Linked DNA regions of Homo sapiens: regions 1, 2, 3, 4, 5 and 6 are each linked to region 7. The links are contacts of gene promoters, found by promoter capture Hi-C in blood cells and fetal thymus (Javierre and others, 2016). All regions are on one chromosome and are shown on one strand. Each heading gives the region's core, a stretch centred on a gene start or on the middle of the fragment in contact. The rest is flanking DNA. Distances are from core to core; before and after follow the strand shown. Region 1 overlaps PAN2 (poly(A) specific ribonuclease subunit PAN2). Region 2 overlaps RAB5B (RAB5B, member RAS oncogene family). Region 3 has its middle 15 kb from the start of RPS26. Region 4 overlaps IKZF4 (IKAROS family zinc finger 4). Region 5 overlaps TIMELESS (timeless circadian regulator). Region 6 overlaps LOC105369781 (a long non-coding RNA gene). Region 7 holds the start of SMARCC2 (SWI/SNF related BAF chromatin remodeling complex subunit C2).

Region 1 (2,700 bases), core at 78-2,577, 140 kb before region 7:
ATGGTGACTCACACCTGTAATCCCAGCACTTTGGGAGGCCGAAGCAGGCGGATCACCTGAGGTCAGGAATTCAAGACCAACCTGGCCAACATGGTGAAACCCCCGTCTCTACTGAAAATATAAAAATTAGCTGGGTGTGGTGGCAGGTTCCTATAATCCCAGCTACTTGGGAGGCTGAAGCAGGAGAATTGCTTGAACCTGGGAGGCAGAGGTTGCAGTGAGCTGAGATCACACCACTGCACTCCTGCCTGGGTGACAGGGCAAGACTCCGTCTCAAAAAAAAGAAAAAGAAAAATACAATGAGGCCAGGCACAGTGGCACCTGTAATCCCGGCACTTTGATAAGCCAAGGTGGGAGGGTTGCTTGAGCCTAAGAGTTCAATACCAGTCTGGGCAACATAGCAAGACCCCATCTCTATTAAAAGAAAAATACAGGCCGGGCGCGGTGGCTCACGCCTGTAATCCCAGCACTTTGGGAGGCCGAGGCGGGCGGATCACGAGGTCAGGAGATCGAGACCATCCCGGCTAAAACGGTGAAACCCCGTCTCTACTAAAAATACAAAAAATTAGCCGGGCGTAGTGGCGGGCGCCTGTAGTCCCAGCTACTTGGGAGGCTGAGGCAGGAGAATGGCGTGAACCCGGGAGGCGGAGCTTGCAGTGAGCCGAGATCCCGCCACTGCACTCCAGCCTGGGCGACAGAGCGAGACTCCGTCTCAAAAAAAAAAAAAAAAAAAAAAAAGAAAAATACAGTTGAGTAAGGGGGTTGAGGTAATGAAGGGTGGGAAATGTTGCTATTTTGTTTGGTTTTGTAGTGTTTTGTTTTAATTTTAATCTTTTTTCCTAATGGCTCTTTTAGAAACAATGTTGCTACTTTAAATAGTTGGTCAGGAGTTCTCTCTGATAAAGTAACATTTGAATAGAGACTTGGATGCAGCACCAAAAAGGGGAACAAAGAGGCAGAGCTCCATGCCTCTAACTTATCCTTGTGCCTCTCCTTTACTATTCTAGGCCCTCTAGAAGGGAGGGAAGGAGCCATGTAGATATCTGGGGAAGGAACATTCTAGAGAACTTCATATGCTGTGTTAAAAGAGCTTGGACCTTGGACTTGAACCTTCAGGCCACTGAAGGGCTTTTTTTTTTTTTTTTTTTTAGGTGGAATCTCACTCTGTTGCCCAGGTTGGAGTGAAGTGGTGCCATCTCAGCTCACTGCAACCTCTGCCTCCCAGGTTAAAGTAATCCTCCTGCCTCAGCCTCCTGAGTAGCTGGGACTACAGGTGTGTGCCACCATGCTCAGCTAATTTTTGTATTTTTAGTAGAGATGACGTTTCACCATGTTGGCCAGGCTGGTGTCAAACTCCTGGCCTCAAGTGATCCACCTGCCTTGGCCTCCCAAAGTGCTGGGATTACAGTGTGAGCCACAGCACCCAGCCTCAGATTTGGGAAATATTTAGGAAGCAAAATAGGCCAGGTGCGGTGACTGATGCCTGTAATCCTAGAATTTTGGGAGGCCGAGGCAGGTGGATCACCTGAGGTCAGGAGTTCGAAACCAGCCTGGCCAACATGGTGAAACCCCCTTTCTACTAAAAATACAAAAAATTAGCTAGGTGTGGTGGTGCATGCCTGTAATCCTGGCTACTTGGGAGGCAGGAGAATTGCTTGAACCTGGGAGGCAGAGGTTGCAGTGAGCTGAGATCGTGCCATTGCACTCCAGCCTGGGCAACAAGAGTGAAACTCCATCTCAAAAAATAAATACATAAATAAAAATTTTAAAAAATCCTTGGTTATCTAGTGGTTAGGAAAAAAATACATAGGACTTGACTGTCAGATATATGGCTTGGTCAACTAGGTAGATCTTGGTACCATAGAGAATACAGTAAGAAAAATAGAAATAAAAATGGTGAATTTAATTTAGGATGTCATGAGTTTGAGGTTATGATGGGATGTTTAAGGAGGTTTAGTAGTTACCATCATCTTCTTGGTATCCATGTGGGATTGGTTCCAAGATCTAAAGATACCAGATACCAAAATTCAAGGATGCCTAAATCCGTTATAGAAAATGATATAGTATTTGCATATAACCTTATGCACATCCTCCCAGATGTGAAACATAAGAAAGCCAGCTGGCCAGTAGAGAATTGGACCATGTCCCTGACCTTCTATATACTGTTCTAACCAAGTGAGCCATTACCTATTCAGCAGGGTCATTGTGAGGACAAAATGAGGTAGAGTTTACCAAAATGCTGTGTAACACATTAAACAAACATAAGACAGTATTATCAGTGTCTTTATCACTAAGATTGACTGGTTCCTAGCCTTTTGCCCCAGTTGCTCCTAGTCACAAAGGCCAAGCAAGAAAGGATCCAAGCTGAGCCATGTTCAGTCCCTGACCTGGCCGTAGGGTGGCCCTTGCCCCTCCACTCTAAGTGTCTCTGTTGTCTTTGTCCTCTATAGGGCCATGCCACTTCATTTTTTGGCCCAGCCTTGGAGCGCTACTCATCCTTTCAAGTCAATGGCAGTGATGATATTCGGCAGATCCAGAGCCTGGAGAATGGTATCCTTTTTCTCACCAAGAACAACCTCAAGTATATGGCCCGTGGGGGCCTCATTATATTTGATTACCTGTAAGTGGCTTCTCAGCTCTGGACTAGGAACGAGGATGCCTCATAGGGTGGGAAGGCTAAGGGATTGGCAGCTTGTAAGG
Region 2 (2,700 bases), core at 21-2,520, 200 kb after region 7:
CTCCCATGCAGCACAACAGCTAGGCAAAATCCTAGGTTCCCTCCCCTTAATTAATACCCCTTTGAGCCAGCTAGCCTAGATGCATAATTTAATGACAACTCCCTCAAGATGACCCCATGTCCACTCAGTCCAACACACAAATGTCAGAAAGCTTAATTATAGGGGAGAGGGTAAGTTAGTTGGGGGCTTTTGGGTTGTGACACTTGAATAGTCCCTTACCACAAATTTAATTGCTCCCTCCTTCCTGTTTTCACACTGGTACCCCCACAGCTGGTACCTCCCTAACCCTCTGCTCTGGAGTTTTCTCCTGACTCCTTTGAAAATCTCCTGGCTGTCATTAGGGTCACAGTGTTGCTGTATTTAACTTGGTGTAGAACTGGGGAATGAGACAATGAATGTCCTCTGTTGACGTTTTCAGAGAGGGCTGGTTTGGAAAAAAAGAGGTCCCAGGAACAGAGGAAGTGTTAGAGAGGAACTCCACGGGCCACCTTACTTCATACTCCACCATACGTTTGTTGGCCAGGTCAGCTTTGTTCCCTGCCAGGGCAATAACGATGCTAGGACTGGCCTGTCGCTGTAGTTCCTTCACCCATGTCTTTGCTCGGGCAAAGGTTTCCTAGGAAAACATGAAGAGAATGAGTAGGCTGGAATGACTGCCAATCCATATCCATCACCTTTTAAAATGAGTCTCAAAATTCACCTCTTCTAGGTGGTCTTCCCTCAGTGAAACCACAGGTCTCTGATAATTCATTATCTGTCTTCTTAGCACTTGGAAGCATAATTTGTACTCTTATTTGCTATTTCAAGAACCCGTTTTCTGCCCCCTTACCCCCTGCCCCAAACTAACTCCTCTAAATATAAGCAAGGACAGTCTTTTTTCTTTTTTTTTTGAGGCGGAGTTTTGCTCTGTCGCCGAGGCTAGAGTGCAGTGGCTCGATCTCGGCTCACTGCAACCTCCGCCTCCTGGGTTCAAGCGATTCTCCTGCCTCAGCCTCCCGAGTAGCTGGGACTACAGGCGCGCACCACCACGCCCAACTAATTTTTGTAATTTTAGTAGAGACGGGGTTTCACCATGTTGGCCAGGATGGTCTCAATCTCTTGACCTCATGATCCTCCCGCCTTGGCATCCTAAAGTGTTGGGATTATAGGCGTAAGCCACCATGTCCAGCCAACAAGGACAGTCTTCTTAGCTCACTTACCTGATTAGTAATGTCGTAAACCACGATTGCAGCTTGGGCACCCCTGTAGTACATGGGGGCTAAGCTGTGATATCGCTCCTGCCCAGCTGTGTCCCAGATCTCAAACTTCACTGTTGTGTCATCTAGACAAACGGACTGGGTGAGGAAGGCCGCTATGGATGAGAGAATGGAGGGGAAGATGCTGTAAGTGGGAGGATGAATGGGAACATCCCTCCCCCCCTTCAAAATGTAACTGCCCTACACTAAGACCAGTCACCACCCAGGATAGTCAGCTACAGGAAAAGGTTTTGAGTTCTCCTTACATGTAAGTCTTGAAACCAGGATTAAGACTGCCCTTGGCTAAGTCCTTCCTGCCAGAAATGTCACTAGCTAAGGAATGGGGGTACATCATAAACTAAGAGGGACAGAAGAACTGGCACTTATACGAGTCATCCTTCTTCTAACCAAAATAGGAGAATAACAAATGACAGAGAAAATAGCTTCAGATAAAAGTCACATCAAGAATTAATTAGAAGATTGGGCTGGGCACGGTAGCTCACGCCTGTAATCCCAGCACTTTGGGAGGTGGGGGCTGAGGCAGGTGGATCACCTGAGGTCAGGAGTTCGAGACCAGTCTGGCCAACACGGCAAAACCCGTCTCTACTAAAAATACAAAAATTAGCCAGGCGTGGTGGTGGACACCTGTAATCACAGCTACTCGGGAGGCTGAGGCTGGAGAATCCCTTGAACTTGGGAGGTGGAGGTTGCAGTGAGCCAAGATGGCGCCACTGCACTTCAGCCTGGGCAACAAGAGCGGAACTCCGTCTCAAAAAACAAACAAACAAACGCAAACAAACAAAAGAATTAATTAGAGGATTGGCTGGGCGCAGTGGCTCATGCCTGTAATCCCAGCACTTTGGGAGGCCAAGGCAGGTGGATGGCTTGAGGTCAGGAGTTCGAGACCAGCCTGGCCAACATAGTGAAACCCCGCCTCTACTAAAAACACAAAAGTTAACCAGGCATGGTGATGGACGCCTGTAATTCCAGCTACTTGGGAGGCTGAGGCAGCAGAAGTGCTTGAACTGGGGAAGCGGAAGTTGCAATGGGCAACCACTGCACCACTGCACTCCAGCCTGGGCAACAGGGTGAGACTCAGTATCCAAAAAAAAAAAAAAAAAAAAAAAGAATTAATTAGAAGATTTTAAAGCTTGATGGCAAGTCCCATCATTATCAATATTATTTGGCTGTTACTTTTTCATATAATCTGCTGCAGGTCCAGGAATACATTTCCAAGATGACTAATAAAAAGGGGAAAGAGGCCAGGCACGGTGGCTCATGCTTGTAATCCCAGCACTTTGGGAGGCCGAGGCGGGTGGATCACTTGAAGTCAGGAGTTTGAGACCAGCCTGGCCAACACGGTGAAACCCTGTCTCTATACAAATACAAAAATTAGCCGGGCATGGTGGTATGTGCCTGTAATCTCCGCTGCTCAGGAGGCTGAGGCACGAGAATCACTTGAACC
Region 3 (2,700 bases), core at 58-2,557, 130 kb after region 7:
GTGGCGCCACTACACTCCAGCCTGGGTGACAGAGCCAGACTCCGTCTCAAAAAAAAAAAAAAAAAAAAAAAAAGAAAGAGAGAAAGAAAGAGGGTCTTGCTATGTTGCCCAGGCTGATCTCAAACTCCTGTCCTCAAGTAATCCTCTGCCTCGGCCTCCCAAAGTGTTGGGATTACAGGCATGAGCCACCTGGCCTGCATCTGATTTATCTTTGAAACATCCAGGGACTAGTAAAATTGGTGCACCCAGACCAATTTTTTTTTTTTTTTTGAGACAGAATTTTGCACTTGTTGCCCAGGCTGGAGTGCAATGGCGCGATCTTGGCTCACTGCAACCTCAGCCAAGGAATTCGGGCAGCCTCTAGAAGCTGAAAAGGGAAGGAAATAGATTCTCCCCTAGGGCGTCCAGAAGGAACCCATCTTCACCAACACCTTGTAGTCCTGTAAGGCCCGTTTCAGATTCTGACCTCTAGAACTATAAGATAATAAAACTGGCCGGGCACGGTGGCTTACGCCTGTAATCCCAGCACTTTGGGAGGCCGAGGCGGGTGGATCACGAGGTCAAGAGATCGAGGCCATCCTGGACAACATGGTGAAACCCGTCTGTACTTAAAAAATACAAAAAATTAGCCGGGTGTGGTGGTGTGCACCTGTAATCCCAGCTACTTGGGAGGCTGAGGCAGGAGAATCACTTGAACCCGGGAGGCGGAGGTTGCAGTGAGCTGAGATCACGCCATTGCACTCCAGCCTGGGCAAAAAGAGCAAAACTCTGTCTCAAAAAAATAAAACTAAAATAAATAATAATAATAATAAAACTGAGTTTGTGGTAATTTGTTACAGCACCGAGAGGAAACAAATACAACTGCCTGCCACCTGCATCCTTCTCATGCGCCCCCATACATGCATGCATGCATGCATTCATTCATTCAGTGTTATGTGTTGCTCCAAACACTGAGGACACAGGAGAACAAGAGACAGGTTTCTGCCTTCAAGGGGCTTACATTCTAGAGAGTGCAGACAGCCAATGAACAACTCAGGAAATAACTTCAGTAGTAAGTGGCATGAAGAAAACGAAACAAGATACTGGGAAAGTGACCACTGCTGCTCACCTGGAGGAGTTAATTTAGACAGAGTGGTCAAGAAGGGGGGTCTCTGAGGCAGTGTCATTTGCACTAAGCTTTAAATAAGAAGGAGCCAGTTTTGTGTTGACCTGAAAGAAGAGCATTGCTGGCAGAGCAACTAGTGAGGGGATAAGGTCTGAAGGAAGAATGAGCTTGGAGGGTCTGAGGAACAGAAAGGAGGCCAGTGTGGTGGAACAGAAAGAATCATGGGGAGGCCATGGCAGAGGAGGTGGTTAGAGAGGAAGGGAGGGGCCAGACCATGCAGGGGCATATATACCACAGTAAGGAGTGTACATTTTAATTACAGAGAGAAGCTTAAGAATTTCAGTGGGGGAGTGATGAGATTGTATTTTTTTTTTTTTTTTGAGACAGAGTCTTGCTCTGTCGCCCAGGCTGGAGTACAGTGGCTTGATCTTGGCTCACTGCAATCTCCGCCTCCTGGGTTCAAGCAATTCTCTTGTCTCAGCATCCTAAGTAGCTGGGATTACAGACAAGTGCCACCACACCTGGCTAATTTTTGTATTTTTAGTAGAGACGGGGTTTCACCATGTTGTCCAGGATGGTCTCGATCTCTTGACCTCATAATCCACCGCACTAGTCTTGGCCTCCCAAAGTGTTTGGATTACAGGCATAAGCCACTGCACCTGGCCGTTTTTTTTTTTTTGTTTTTTTTTTTGTTGTTGTTTTGTTTTTTTTTTGAGATGGAGTCTAGCTCTGTTGCCCAGGCTGGAGGGCGGTGGTGTGATCTCGGCTCACCACAACCTCCGCCTCCCAGGTTCAAGCGATTTTCCTGCCTCAGCCTCCTGAGTAGCTGGGACTACAGGCATGTGCCACCACACCTGACTAATTTTGTATTTTTAGTAGAGATGGGGTTTCACTATGTTGGCCAGGCTGGTCTCAAACTCCTGACCTCATGATCTACTGCCTTGGCCTCCCAAAGTTCTGGGATTACAGGCGTGAGGCCCCACTCCCAGCCCTTTTTTTTTTTCTTTTTTAAGAGTCAGGATCTTGCTCTGTTGCCCAGACTGGAGTGCAGTGGCACTATCTTGGCTCACTGCAGCCTCGACCTCCCAGGCTCAAGGGATCCTCCCACCTCAGCCTCCCCAATAGCTGAGACTACAGTCATACACCACCACACCTGGCTAATTTAAAAAATTTTTTTTGTAGAGACGAGGTTTCACCATGTTGATCAGACTGGTCTGGGACTCCTGGGCTTAAGGGATCCTCCTGCAGCACTGGCATTACAGGTGTGAGCCACTGCACCTGGCAGTGGTTTGCTTTTTAAAATAATCAGCCTTCGCTGGGTGTGGTGGCTCATGCCTGTAATCCCAGCACTTTGGGAGGCAGAGGCGGATGGATCACTTGAGGTCAGGAGTTCAAGACCAGCCTGGCCAACATGGTGAGACACCCATCTCTGCTAAAAAAAAAAAAAAAAAAAAAAAAAAAAAAAATCAGCTGGGTGTGGTGGCACATGCCTATAATCCCAGCTACTTGGAGACTAAGGCAGGGGAATCGCTGAACCTGGGAGGTGGAGGTTGCTGTGAGCCAAGATTGCACCACTGCATTCCAGCCTGGGTGAT
Region 4 (2,700 bases), core at 67-2,566, 160 kb after region 7:
TAAGCAAAAGATCTGTTTCATCACAATGCTTACATCGGTCAGGATAGAGGAAGAGAATAGGTGAGGAGGGGTCAGGGTCAGGTGTGAGGTCAGGTGGCCAGTAGTGAGGGCTACAAAGCAAAACTCCTTGGGAAATGGTGGGGACAGGGATCAATGCCTGTAGTCAGGGCAGTGGAGTGGTGGACTGAGGAGAGAGGGAGAGGTTGCTAGCCCACCTTATGCTCCCCCCGGACAATGTGGGAAGAGAATTCGTACCGGTCCTGGCTGTGATAACCACAGATGTTGCACTCAAAAGGGTCTCTGAAGCCATGGCAGCCCATGTGGATAGTGAACATGACGTGGTCCAGGAAGAGGATACGGCAGTGCTCACACTTGAAGGCCTTCACAGGCTCACCACTCTCGCCCACCACCCGAAGCACTTCCTTGGAGGGGCCTGGGGTGCCCCGCAATAACCCCTCCTGTGGCTTGGGGTCCTCTTTGGCGTAGGCAGGACTGTGCCGGCCCACCACAATGGTGGGAGGTGGCTGGGGTGGGGGACCCTGAGGGAGGGATACCACCCCCGCAACCCGATCTTCGTGGTTGCTTTCTGTGTCTGTGGAGTCCTGGCAGCCATTGCTGGGGGATGCCCCAGGGTCAGTCAGGGGGCCTCGGGGCCGGTAGAGGAGGGGACCTCCATCAGCCAGGTCCTCAGGTCCCTCACCTGCTTCTCGGGATCCTGGAAGCTCCAGTCGACCAGGGAGGGGCTGCATCTGGGTGTAGACAGAGCTGATGACAGGCGTGAGTTCTGAGATGCAATTGGTGGGTGGAAGGCGGAGGGGACGCAGATGCTCTGCACCCACAAAGGCCAGGGAACTTCCAAAGCCAGGCTCTAGGCTGTGGTGTGCCACCAACTCCACATCCTTTTCATAGCCACCCGAGTTCACATCATAGGGGAGGTCTGAGAGGCTGAAGCGCATCTGCTTTTCGCCTGTGGAGAACAGGAACTCAGCAGGGCTGGGTTTGGAGAATTCCTACACTCTCCTCAGGATTACTTCTTTGTTTTTTTACCTGTGGGGCTGGGTGTAACATTATTTACTACGTGGCATTTACTTTCGCAGGGTCAGGTCCTTTGTGGGACTGCTCCCTGACTCTAGGCTATAATCTTAGAGAAGGACTCAATCCCAGCCCATTGATTTTTAATACTTCATTTTATTACTCTCCATAAAGCTCCAGGTCCTTAGAGAGCTCATGACTAGTGCTGGGGATAGGGGGAACCACATACTTATTTCCTCTCTCTGACTCTCTAAGGGCCCACACAGACTGAAGTTCTTGTTATTCTTAAAAACTGAGATAGCCCGGGCCGGGCGCGGTGGCTCACGCCTGTAATCCCAGCACTTTGGGAGGCTGAGGCGGGCAGATCATGAGGTCAGGAGATTAAGACCATCCTGGCTAACACGGTGAAACCCCGTCTCTACTAAAAATACAAAAAAAATTAGCCGGGCATGGTGGCAGGCGTCTGTAGTCCCAGCTACTCGGGAGGCTGAGGCAGGAGAATGGCGTGAACCTGGGAGACAGAGGTTGCAGTGAGCCGAGATCGTGCCACTGCATTCTAGCCTGGGCGACAGAGCAAGACTCCGTCTCAAAAACAAACAAACAAACAAAAAACTGAGACAGCCCGATGCCTCGACCCTGTCCCTTACAACCACCACGAGAGTCTTCAGTGCCAACCCTTCTCCACTCTCTTTGAGTACATCCTCCCTCTTTACTTTCCTCCTGTCCTGAGGATAGATTTTCAGTATCAGAGGCCACCAGCCTGCTTTCTTTCTTTCCTTTTTTCTTTTTTCTTTTGAGACGGAGTCTTGCTCTGTTGCCCAGGATGGATGGAGTGCAGTGGCGCGATCTCCGCTCACTGCAAGCTCCGCCTCCCAGGTTCACACCATTCTCCTGCTTCAGCCTCCCGAGTAGCTGGGACTACAGGTGCCCGCCACCACGCCCGGCTAATTTTTTGTATTTTTAGTAGAGAGGGGGTTTCACTGTGTTAACCGGGATGGTCTTGATCTTCTGACCTCTTGATCTGCCCACCTTGGCCTCCCAAAGTGCTGGGATTACAGACGTGAGCCACTGCACCCAGCCCACCAGACTGCTTTCTTTCCCCAAACCGAATCTCCAGACCACACAGCTCAGATTTATTTGAGCTGTGGCTTAAAGCTGATACGTCTTTCCAACTGGATTCTTACCTACAAACTTCTGGGGTGTGGAACGCTTGCGTTTGGTGAGGCTATTGGCCAGACGATCGATGAAAGTTGGCCGCTCAGAGGATGAGTGCAGCATGGAGTCTGGCACCATCTCCAGGTCACGTATTTCGTCACCTAGTGGGAAGAAGGTGGAGACAGTAGTAGCAGTTGAGTAGGGGTAGCATTGGCCCCACAGCCTTTGCCTGGAGAAAACCAGCAGGTCAGTAGCCAAGGAAGGACATACCAGTTGCCTGGGAAACTGGGCTCTGTTTACCCTACCTAAAGCTCACTCCAATAAAATTTCAGATCATTTGGGGACAATCATACACATCTGGCCCTTGGTTTTATACTTCTTGTGTTCTCTCTCTCCCATTAGGCCAAGGATATAGACCCAAACTTCCCCTACCTGTCGATCTCCCTAAAGCACCCACCACAGACAAGGCTCTCCACCAACTGGGTTACCTAGAATGGGGTGTTTGGCAGATTT
Region 5 (2,700 bases), core at 189-2,688, 240 kb before region 7:
TTTCTCTTCCCCATTCCTAGACAATATTTTCTATGTGATGGAGTACCGAGAACTATTCCTGGCACTTTTTCGAAAGTTTGATGAGAGATGCCAGCCCCGCTCTTTCCTTCGTGACCTGGTGGAGACCACCCACCTCTTCCTCAAAATGTTGGAGCGATTCTGTCGGAGCCGTGGGAACCTGGTGGTGCAGGTACTGGGCAGCCCCACAATGTAGAAAGAGCTGTAAGGGAGAGTCAAGGAAGGGGGGCTCTTTCTTCTCACAGTTTGTACAGCTTAAGTTCATCTGTTAAACGTGCTCTGAACTACGACAGCAAGAGGTTTGTGGGTGTTGGCCAGTGTGAGTCTACTACAGTTTCCTTCTCCCATTAGAATAATCTCTGATCTGCCATAAATATTTTAGTTCAGTCAGGAAACATTTATTGAACACCTACCACATGCCAAGTACAAAAACCCTGGGGATTCATAATTTTAGAGTCTAATAATTATGCTATAGCATTTTCTGGTTATACCTTGAAAGCATTGTGGTGAGGTGGAAAGAGCCTTAAATTGCGGCCAGGCATGGTGGCGCACACCTGTAATCCCCGCGCTTGAGGAGGCCAAGGTGGGCAGATTACTTGAGGTCAGGGGTTCAAGACCAGCCTGGCCAACATGGTGAAACCCCGTCTCTACTAAAAATACAAAAATTAGCCAGGCGTGTTGATGCACACCTGTAATCCCAGCTACTCAGAAGGCTGAGACAGAATCGCTTGAATCCAGGAGGTGGAGATTGCAGTGAGCCAAGATCATGTCACTGCACTCCAGACTGGGTGACACAGTGAGACTCTGTCTCAACAGCAACACAAAGAGAGCCTTAAATTGAACTTTAGAAAGTCTGGAATCTAGTCCTGTATTGGTTATTATTGGAATAAGCTCAAGCTGGTCGTGTCGGTCTCCAGATCCATAAAGTTGGGATTGTGACAGTTGTCCATGAACCCAAAGTGGAATCAGTGAAAAGCCTAGGACAGGCTGGGCACAGTGGCTCATGCCTGTAATCCCAGCACTTTGGGAGGCCACAGTGGGTGGATCATTTGAGGCCAGGAGTTTGAGACCAGCCTGGGCAACATGACAAAACTCCTTCTCTACTAAAAATACAAAAATTAGCTGGGTGTGATGGCACGCACCTGTAGTCCCAGCTATTTGGGAAGCTGAGGCACGAGAATTGCTTGAACCCATGAGGCAGAGGTTGCAGTAGGCCAAGATCATGCCACTGCACTCCAGTCTGGGCCACAGAGCAAGACTCTGTCTCAACAAAAAACAAAAACAATTCACCAGCATGGTGGCACATACCTGTAGTCCCAGCTGCTCAGGAGGCTGAAGCACGAGGATCACTGGAACTTAGGAGTTTGAGGATGCAGTGAGCTGTGATTGAGACATTGCACTCCAGTCTGGGTGAGACCAAGACCCTATCTCTGAAAAATAAAATTATTGGTTCACATTAAAATAAAAAAAACCCTGGGACAAAATGCAAACTCCAAGGAATTTGTATCCTGGAAACACAGAGACTTTGCTTTGTATAAACAGATTTTGGGCCAGGCGCGGTGGCTCATGCCTGTAATCCCAGCACTTTGGGAGGCTGAGGCGGGCAGATCACTTGAGGTCAGGAGTTCACGACCAGCCTGGCCAACATGGTGAAACCCTGTCTCTACTAAAAATACAAAAATTAGCCAGGCATGGTCATGCGCACCTGTAATCCCAGCTTCTTGGGAGGCTGAAGTGGGAGAATCACTTGAACCCGGGAGGCGGAGGTTGCAGTGAGCCAAGATCATGCCATTGCACTCCAGCCTGGGCAACAGAGCAAGACTCCGTCTCAAAAAACAAACAAACAAACAAAAATTAGCCTGGCGTGGTGGCACACACCTGTAATCCCAGGTACTTGGGAGGCTGAGGCAGGAGAATCGCTTGAACCCAGGTGGCAGAGGTTGCAGTGAGCCGAGATCACGCCATTGCACTCCAGCCTGGGCAACAAGAGTGAAATTCTGTCTTAAAAAAAAAAAAAAAAAAGATTTTGTACCAGAACCTTCCTATAACTCTAGTTGCTACAGCTTAAAATTCTGTCATAACTGGACTTGAAAGATGCAGTAGTACCAACGAGACTTTGCTAAAGGGTATTTTTGCACTCAGAGCTCTGTGGTATTATCTGTAATACTAGGTACTATCATTTATTGAGCATTTACTGTGTGTCAGACACTGTGCTGACGTTTTCATGTAATCCTCACAGTAGCGCATGTGCCCAAAGTGGTTAAGCAACTTGTCCAAAGTCTTGTTAGTAATACTAATTCAATACTCAAATCCAGATCTGCTGGACTCCATGCTCCTAAGTTTTGGTGTGTTTGATTGTAAGTTCTTTAATGGAGCATGACCTTCAGGGGCCTCTCAGTTCATCCTGTTTGACTTTTCAGTACCCACACCAAAGACTGGTTCACAGCCCTGACTTGGGAGAAGCAGGATTTGGGTATTGACTCACTCTCCTGCTTTTCTTTTTTTTAATTATTTATTTATTTATTTATTTTTTTAAGCAGGGTCTCGCTCTGTTACCTAAGCTGGAGTGCAGTGGCTGAATCTCAGCTCACTGCAACCTCTCCTTCCCGTGCCCAAGCGATTCTTCTGCCTCGGCCTCCCAAGTAGCTGGGACTACAGGTACACACCACCATGCCTGGCTAA
Region 6 (2,700 bases), core at 42-2,541, 180 kb after region 7:
GAGCCGAGATCGGGCCATTGCACTCCAGACTGGGCAACAAGAACAAAACTCCGTCTCAAAAAAAAAAAAAAAAAAAGTCATTTAACACATGCTTAATGTGGCCTAGGGGGTAAAAGGTCATGAGAAGAATATTGTTGGGAAAGATGGTGAAGGTAGAGAGAATGGCAAGGATCCATACCATGTTTTTGTTATTATTCCCAAACTATAACAGGCAGAAGTAGAAAAATTTTCTCCACTTTCCCTTAGTACCTGGGTTCTGCGGTGGAGAGCAGTAGTTATTAACAAGACAGAACTTCCCATGTGCCTTGGGTATGAGCCATTCAGGTGCTACAAGTAGAGCAAACCCACAGCATCATCCTCTACTGTCTATGCCTTCCTGAACTGAGTGAAATCTGAGCAAAAATATGTTGAAATCACATAGCTGGCTCTGCTCTCTATCAAAGCTTTGCATAATTGAGGAGGGAGAAGACGCAAAGGGGCCAGGGAAAGGTATGGAATTAGCCACTGTCTGCAAGCCCCTTTCCAGGAAAAAGACCTAGACATCAAGCAATTTGCAGCTCTGAAATTATCTTTAGGGTCAACCTAGTGCTCTCTGAAGGAAACCCACCAACCTTAGCTCAGCTCATGTGTTTGTCTTTACAGTGGAAAGGTCTGACTCATTTTTCACCAGGCTGTAGATGGTGACCTTCTGTCTACATATAATACAGTTGAAGACAGCTCAGCTTCATTATCCAAGTGCTTGGGGAGCAGTGCAGAGGGGATAAATTCCCAGGTCATCCTAGGAATGGCCAGTCTCTAAAATAAAAAGGGGTAAGAGCTGAAAACACAACACCTGGGCAGGGGGAAAATATCACCTCATTGTCTCCTTTTAGATCTCAGATGGATGCATCTTTTCTCTTGTTCTTTGCGCTTCTCTGTCCTCCCCATGTAGACTGCAGAAGAGAGAGAAGGCTAAGGTTTATGAGTGGGAGAAGAAACGATCCTATCCCTCCCATGTCTCATTTCAGGACATAAGGAACTAAGGAAAAGGGCCAAACTAAACACTTTAAATCACTAGATATGATACATAGGAGATGATACTTTTTGGGGTTTTTGGGTGTACCCCCAAGTATAGCTCTCTGTTTATAGAAAGGCCTCACAAAATCACTGCTGTTCAGTGGTATGTTTGGCAGGGGTGGAGAAAGTAGAGCAGGGAAATTCAATTTGAGTTTTATAATAATCAGTTTTAAAGCCAAAGATGCCCAAAACAGGGTTAGCACTCTCAAGTGAAGTTTGAAATTACAGGGAAGTCTCAGTGAACTATTCTGACTAGGGTACAGTAGCAAAAAAAATGTAGAAGAGACAGGAACAATTGCCTTTGATTGCAATTGTGCCCAAAAGTCCCTAATACATGCTGATCAAAAAAGTTCACTGTTGTTTGGGCCAGAAAGATGTTTTCAGGCTTCTCTGCTAATAGTCTTGCTCTGATAATCCAATTTGGTAAGACTCTCTTCTTCATGTGGAGGGTCTAGGGCAGGGGTACTCCAGGAACTGAGAAATCCTGGAGCTGAAATGGAGTTGAGAGATTATCTACAATTTCCTAGTTTTTAACAGAAGAAACTAAGCCCAGAGTCATCAATCTCATTAACAACAGAATTAGGACATGTAGAGTCCAAGTTACCATTAGAAGATTCTTTCCACTGGAACACTATATTAAATCTTGCCCCAGTTGGAAGATTTGGGCCACCCTGCTTGCCTTCTTTCTTGGGTTATTAAATGAATGGTTTTTGGGTCTGCGTCTTGCTGACCTAAATCCTTGAACTGGAAACACAGGCTTATGGATGGGAGGATAAATAATCCTCTTCCTCCTATGTCTCTTTTCAGAGATAATGGACCTGAGGAAAACACCAAACTAGATGGTCATTAAGTCTCTAAAGTAGAAACGGCCTCTTAGCTTGAGGACTACCCCAGCATAGGTATTGCATCAGAGCCTACAATGTGGATCCTCCCCGCAGCTGGACCAGGTCATTCATATCAGCACTACCCTTTCTTAGATGCCTTTGTCTGATAAACTTTGAACCTATCTCTCTGTTTCCAGAACAGAGTCCATAACTCTTCTAAGAAGAGGAAGCAAATCAAAGCCTGGAATTCAAAGCTTTCTTCAGCAGAGTCAACAGACCAATAAAGAAAGGGAGTCCCTCTGCCTGTGGCATTGTCCACACTCACAGGGTCCCACACTCTTATTTGTTCCTACAGAGTAAAACGAGGCTAGAAATACCTATCTTTCTTTTTCTTTGGTGTGTGTGTGTGTGGCGAGAGAGAGAGAGAGACAGAGAGAGAGATGGCCAGTTGGGGAAAAAAAATAATTCCTTTGTGGATACTACTGTGTGTGGGGGGGCAGGGGGTACGGTGAAAGGTGGGATAAGTTTCTCCCATGCTGGGAAGTTCAAGCTGCAGATTTCAAACTAAGAGGACATAAAGAGACTTTCAGTTGCATTTTCACTGGAAAAAAGTCAGGACTTATTTCTGAGCCAAGTCCTGAAATATGCCTTACCCTTAACCTACTCAGAGGAAGGGGATTGCCCAGAAGCTACAATTCAACTAACTAACTGCACTCAGTGGGCAACAAAGACATTATATTTTGTGTTTGAGACATCAACTTCTATTGACTAGGGCAAGGTATAATTCTGAAGCTGCCAAAATGAGGGCAGCTCTCACCAT
Region 7 (2,700 bases), core at 7-2,506:
CTGTAATCCCAGCATTTTGGGAGGCCGAGGCGGGCAGATAACCTGAGGTCAGGAGTTTGAGACCAGCCTGGCCAATATGGTGAACCTGTCTCTACTAAAAATACAAAAATTAGCCAGGTATGGTGACGCATGCCTGTGGTCCCAGCTACTCGGGAAGCTAAGGCAGGAGAATTGCTTGAACCCGGGAAGCGGAGGTTGCGGTGAGCCGAGATCGCGCCACTGCACTCCAGCCTGAGCAACAGAGCGAGACTCCCTTTTAATAATAAGAAGAAGAAAGAAAAAAAAAAAAAACCCGTCACGAACAGGATTCGAACCTGTGCGGGGAAACCCCATTGGATTTCGAGTCCAACGCCTTAACCACTCGGCCACCGTGACTTCCAAAACCGCGCTTTATCGCGCGCTTACAGAAGGGGTCCGCACTGCAATCCGGGAATGCGTGCGGGAACCGGAAGCAGGGTACCGGCCCCGACACACACACACCTGAGGACTCCCCACCCCTCGGTTCCTTACCTCCTATCTACGCCACCCAAAGAAAAAGAGTCGGATGGACTGGGTGACCCAGGGAGGGAGGGTCTCCTGCCTAGCGAAGAGTCGGGGTCTCGAGTAGGAGCTCACACCTACTTAGGAGGCGACAGCGAGGCCTGCGGAGGAAGCAGTTGAGGGAAGGCACTGGGCCGCCAGGGTGGCGACTAGGGGACATTTGGGTTAACAAGTGAGGGGAGTGCTGGGTGGACAAGGCGCGAGGAGTGAGGGAGACTCTGAAAAGTTTAAATGGGGAGCTGCTGTGAATGGATGGAAGGAAGGAACTTCTTGGGGAAAGGGGTTTGGGGTTTTGGGGGACGAGGGGCTTCGTCGGGTTAGGAATGCGCAAGGTGAGGACCACTCGGGTCTACGGGTTGGGGCTGCTCCAGCGACTGGCGGCCGCCTGGAGTGGGATAGCGAGGTGACACTCCCGAGCTGAGGCAAAAAGAGGGAAAGGGCTTCGCGTCTGGTAAGAGCGATCTCAGGAGAATGGCGCCCCCTCCAGGAAGCGTCCTTCTCCCCGGAGGCTCCCGCCTCCGCTGCCGGGGAGGCCGCCAGGGTCGGCCCGCGCCTGGAGCTCCGCCGCCGCGCCCGGCCTGCCGGCAGGGGGCGCAGCGCGGACCGGGGCCGGCCCAGGCGGCGGGAGGCGGCGGCCGCGGCGGCGGGAGGCGGCGGGAGGCGGGCGGAGGAGGAGGCGGAGGAGGCGGGAGCTGAGCTGAGTGGGGCGGGCGGCGGCGGGGCCCGAGCCGGAGAAGATGGCGGTGCGGAAGAAGGACGGCGGCCCCAACGTGAAGTACTACGAGGCCGCGGACACCGTGACCCAGTTCGACAACGTGCGGCTGTGGCTCGGCAAGAACTACAAGAAGGTACGCGGGCCGGGCCGGGCCGCGCGGGGACCGGGGGCGGGACAAAGGGACCGCGGCCCTGCAGCCCCGGGATCCTGCCTACCCTCCAGGCGCCCCAGCCCCTCCCCCGCGGCCTCCCAAGCAGCCCCCCGCGCGCCCTCCTGCGCTCCCGCGCCCCTCCCCCAGCCTCCCTCTCCCCGCACCCCCAGCCTCTGAGCCCAGCCCCCGCCCCCACTGCTGCGCCCTCTGCCCCTTGTTTTTCTCTACTGCCCGGCGGGCCCCGGTGCCATTAGCCCACCTTCCCCTCAGCCATCGCCCTCCTGGCTTTTCTGGGAGAGGCGGCCGGCCGGGTGTGGACCGGGTGCCCAATGGGCTCCCCCGCAACCCGGAGCGTGCCCGCCAGAGCTCCCCACGGAGCCAGGTACCAGCGGGGCTGAGGCCTCTCCGGTGCTTTGTGTATGTTCAGAGAGAGAGAATGGAAAGCAGGAGGGTAAACAGTCACAGAGCAAGCCGTTGGCTGCTCATCAGCCTGAAAAAGGTCTCCACCCAGGGATCACCTGTCTCCGCCGCTCATCCCCCACCTTCATCTAAGGGGCAACAGAATCTCTCAGGGAGCCGGGGTATAGGAGTTCCTGGGTAGCGGCCCCTTCCGAAACCTTTCCTCGATTTTACAATGAAGTCACCTTGCAACCTAGCTTTGCAGTACCCTGGGTTTGGGGTCGAGAGGTTAGGGTGAGCTTCCTATCTCTAGCCCCTCACACCCAAACCCCATAACTGGAGATCATAAGGTGGTGAACAAAAGGTTCAAGAATCCTTACCTGTCTTTTCTACCAAACCTCTTCCTGGTGTCGTCTTTGTCTCTAGGCCTGGTTTTCTCTGGAAATGGTCTGCCTCTCTTTTTCTCACTACCCTCAGAGAGGGATTCTCTTTATGGCTTTCTTTCAGCTCCCCAGTTCTTCCTGCCGGCTTTGCAGCTCGTCAGAAGTGTGCTTAGTGGCTTAGGAGAACTTCCTACTGATGCTGGTTGTGAGCCTGGCCCTGCCCTTGGGGTCTCTCTGGGTGTGAGAATCCTGACAAATAGCTGCTATTTCTATGGCATGTCTCTACGCCTGTGAGAGGCTCTTATTCCCAGGCTTCTACCTTTGACCTTTTGCAGGGAGATCAGGCTAGGGGCTTAGCCTCCGGCCTTGGGGGAATTGACAGTTGTGACCTGGTTCAGCTTCCATGCTCTTAGCTCTTTGTCATTTACCTTTCCCTTCACAGATCTATCTCTTTTCACCTCTCACTGAGAGGCACTGTCTTCTTTGTGATGAGTGGGGAGAAAACGGGTCAA

What was found. The method cuts DNA at HindIII sites, captures the fragments that hold promoters and counts their contacts. A CHiCAGO score of 5 or more calls a contact.
Region 1: a fragment that was not itself captured here is called in contact with the fragment with the promoter of SMARCC2 in region 7 in 2 of 17 cell types (fetal thymus and endothelial precursors); the score reaches 5.1 in fetal thymus.
Region 2: a fragment that was not itself captured here is called in contact with the fragment with the promoter of SMARCC2 in region 7 in 2 of 17 cell types (total CD8 T cells and naive CD4 T cells); the score reaches 6.7 in total CD8 T cells.
Region 3: a fragment that was not itself captured here is called in contact with the fragment with the promoter of SMARCC2 in region 7 in 8 of 17 cell types (total CD8 T cells, naive CD4 T cells, total CD4 T cells and 5 more); the score reaches 7.1 in total CD8 T cells.
Region 4: a contact is called between a fragment that was not itself captured here and the fragment with the promoter of SMARCC2 in region 7, in 2 of 17 cell types (total CD8 T cells and naive CD8 T cells). The highest score is 5.2, in total CD8 T cells.
Region 5: a contact is called between a fragment that was not itself captured here and the fragment with the promoter of SMARCC2 in region 7, in 2 of 17 cell types (erythroblasts and activated CD4 T cells). The highest score is 5.5, in erythroblasts.
Region 6: a contact is called between a fragment that was not itself captured here and the fragment with the promoter of SMARCC2 in region 7, in 1 of 17 cell types (naive CD8 T cells). The highest score is 6.0, in naive CD8 T cells.

The regions. Positions count from the first base shown.
Region 1 is chr12:56,328,392-56,331,091 of GRCh38, reverse strand. It overlaps PAN2 (poly(A) specific ribonuclease subunit PAN2), which reads left to right. Exons shown (of 26, transcript NM_014871.6): 3 at 2,451-2,620. Among named protein-coding and RNA genes, the nearest start is that of PAN2, 4.3 kb to the left of the region's middle. The HindIII fragment of the contact is 3,073 bases long and covers 1-2,700 here.
Region 2 is chr12:55,988,598-55,991,297 of GRCh38, reverse strand. It overlaps RAB5B (RAB5B, member RAS oncogene family), which reads right to left. Exons shown (of 6, transcript NM_002868.4): 3 at 1,200-1,351; 4 at 494-616. Among named protein-coding and RNA genes, the nearest start is that of SUOX, 7.3 kb to the left of the region's middle. The HindIII fragment of the contact is 2,234 bases long and covers 154-2,387 here.
Region 3 is chr12:56,055,173-56,057,872 of GRCh38, reverse strand. No RefSeq gene overlaps it. Among named protein-coding and RNA genes, the nearest start is that of RPS26, 15 kb to the right of the region's middle. The HindIII fragment of the contact is 258 bases long and covers 1,179-1,436 here.
Region 4 is chr12:56,032,838-56,035,537 of GRCh38, reverse strand. It overlaps IKZF4 (IKAROS family zinc finger 4), which reads right to left. Exons shown (of 8, transcript NM_022465.4): 7 at 2,217-2,348; 8 at 1-967. The coding sequence ends at 207. Among named protein-coding and RNA genes, the nearest start is that of RPS26, 7.7 kb to the left of the region's middle. The HindIII fragment of the contact is 3,063 bases long and covers 1-2,700 here.
Region 5 is chr12:56,425,726-56,428,425 of GRCh38, reverse strand. It overlaps TIMELESS (timeless circadian regulator), which reads left to right. Exons shown (of 29, transcript NM_003920.5): 13 at 21-190. Among named protein-coding and RNA genes, the nearest start is that of TIMELESS, 22 kb to the left of the region's middle. The HindIII fragment of the contact is 2,921 bases long and covers 1-2,700 here.
Region 6 is chr12:56,009,649-56,012,348 of GRCh38, reverse strand. LOC105369781 (a long non-coding RNA gene) reads left to right here. Exons shown (of 3, transcript NR_135023.1): 2 at 671-810; 3 at 2,078-2,257. It also overlaps a transcript of IKZF4 not described here. Among named protein-coding and RNA genes, the nearest start is that of IKZF4, 10 kb to the left of the region's middle. The HindIII fragment of the contact is 1,691 bases long and covers 446-2,136 here.
Region 7 is chr12:56,188,039-56,190,738 of GRCh38, reverse strand. SMARCC2 (SWI/SNF related BAF chromatin remodeling complex subunit C2) reads left to right here and starts at 1,256. Exons shown (of 29, transcript NM_001330288.2): 1 at 1,256-1,388. The coding sequence starts at 1,278. TRS-CGA4-1 (tRNA-Ser (anticodon CGA) 4-1) reads right to left here and starts at 375; the gene lies at 294-375. It overlaps LOC107984468 (a long non-coding RNA gene), which reads right to left and starts at 47. Exons shown (of 2, transcript XR_007063330.1): 1 at 1-47. RefSeq lists an enhancer at 610-709 and silencers at 950-1,229, 1,300-1,519. The HindIII fragment of the contact is 5,408 bases long and covers 1-2,700 here.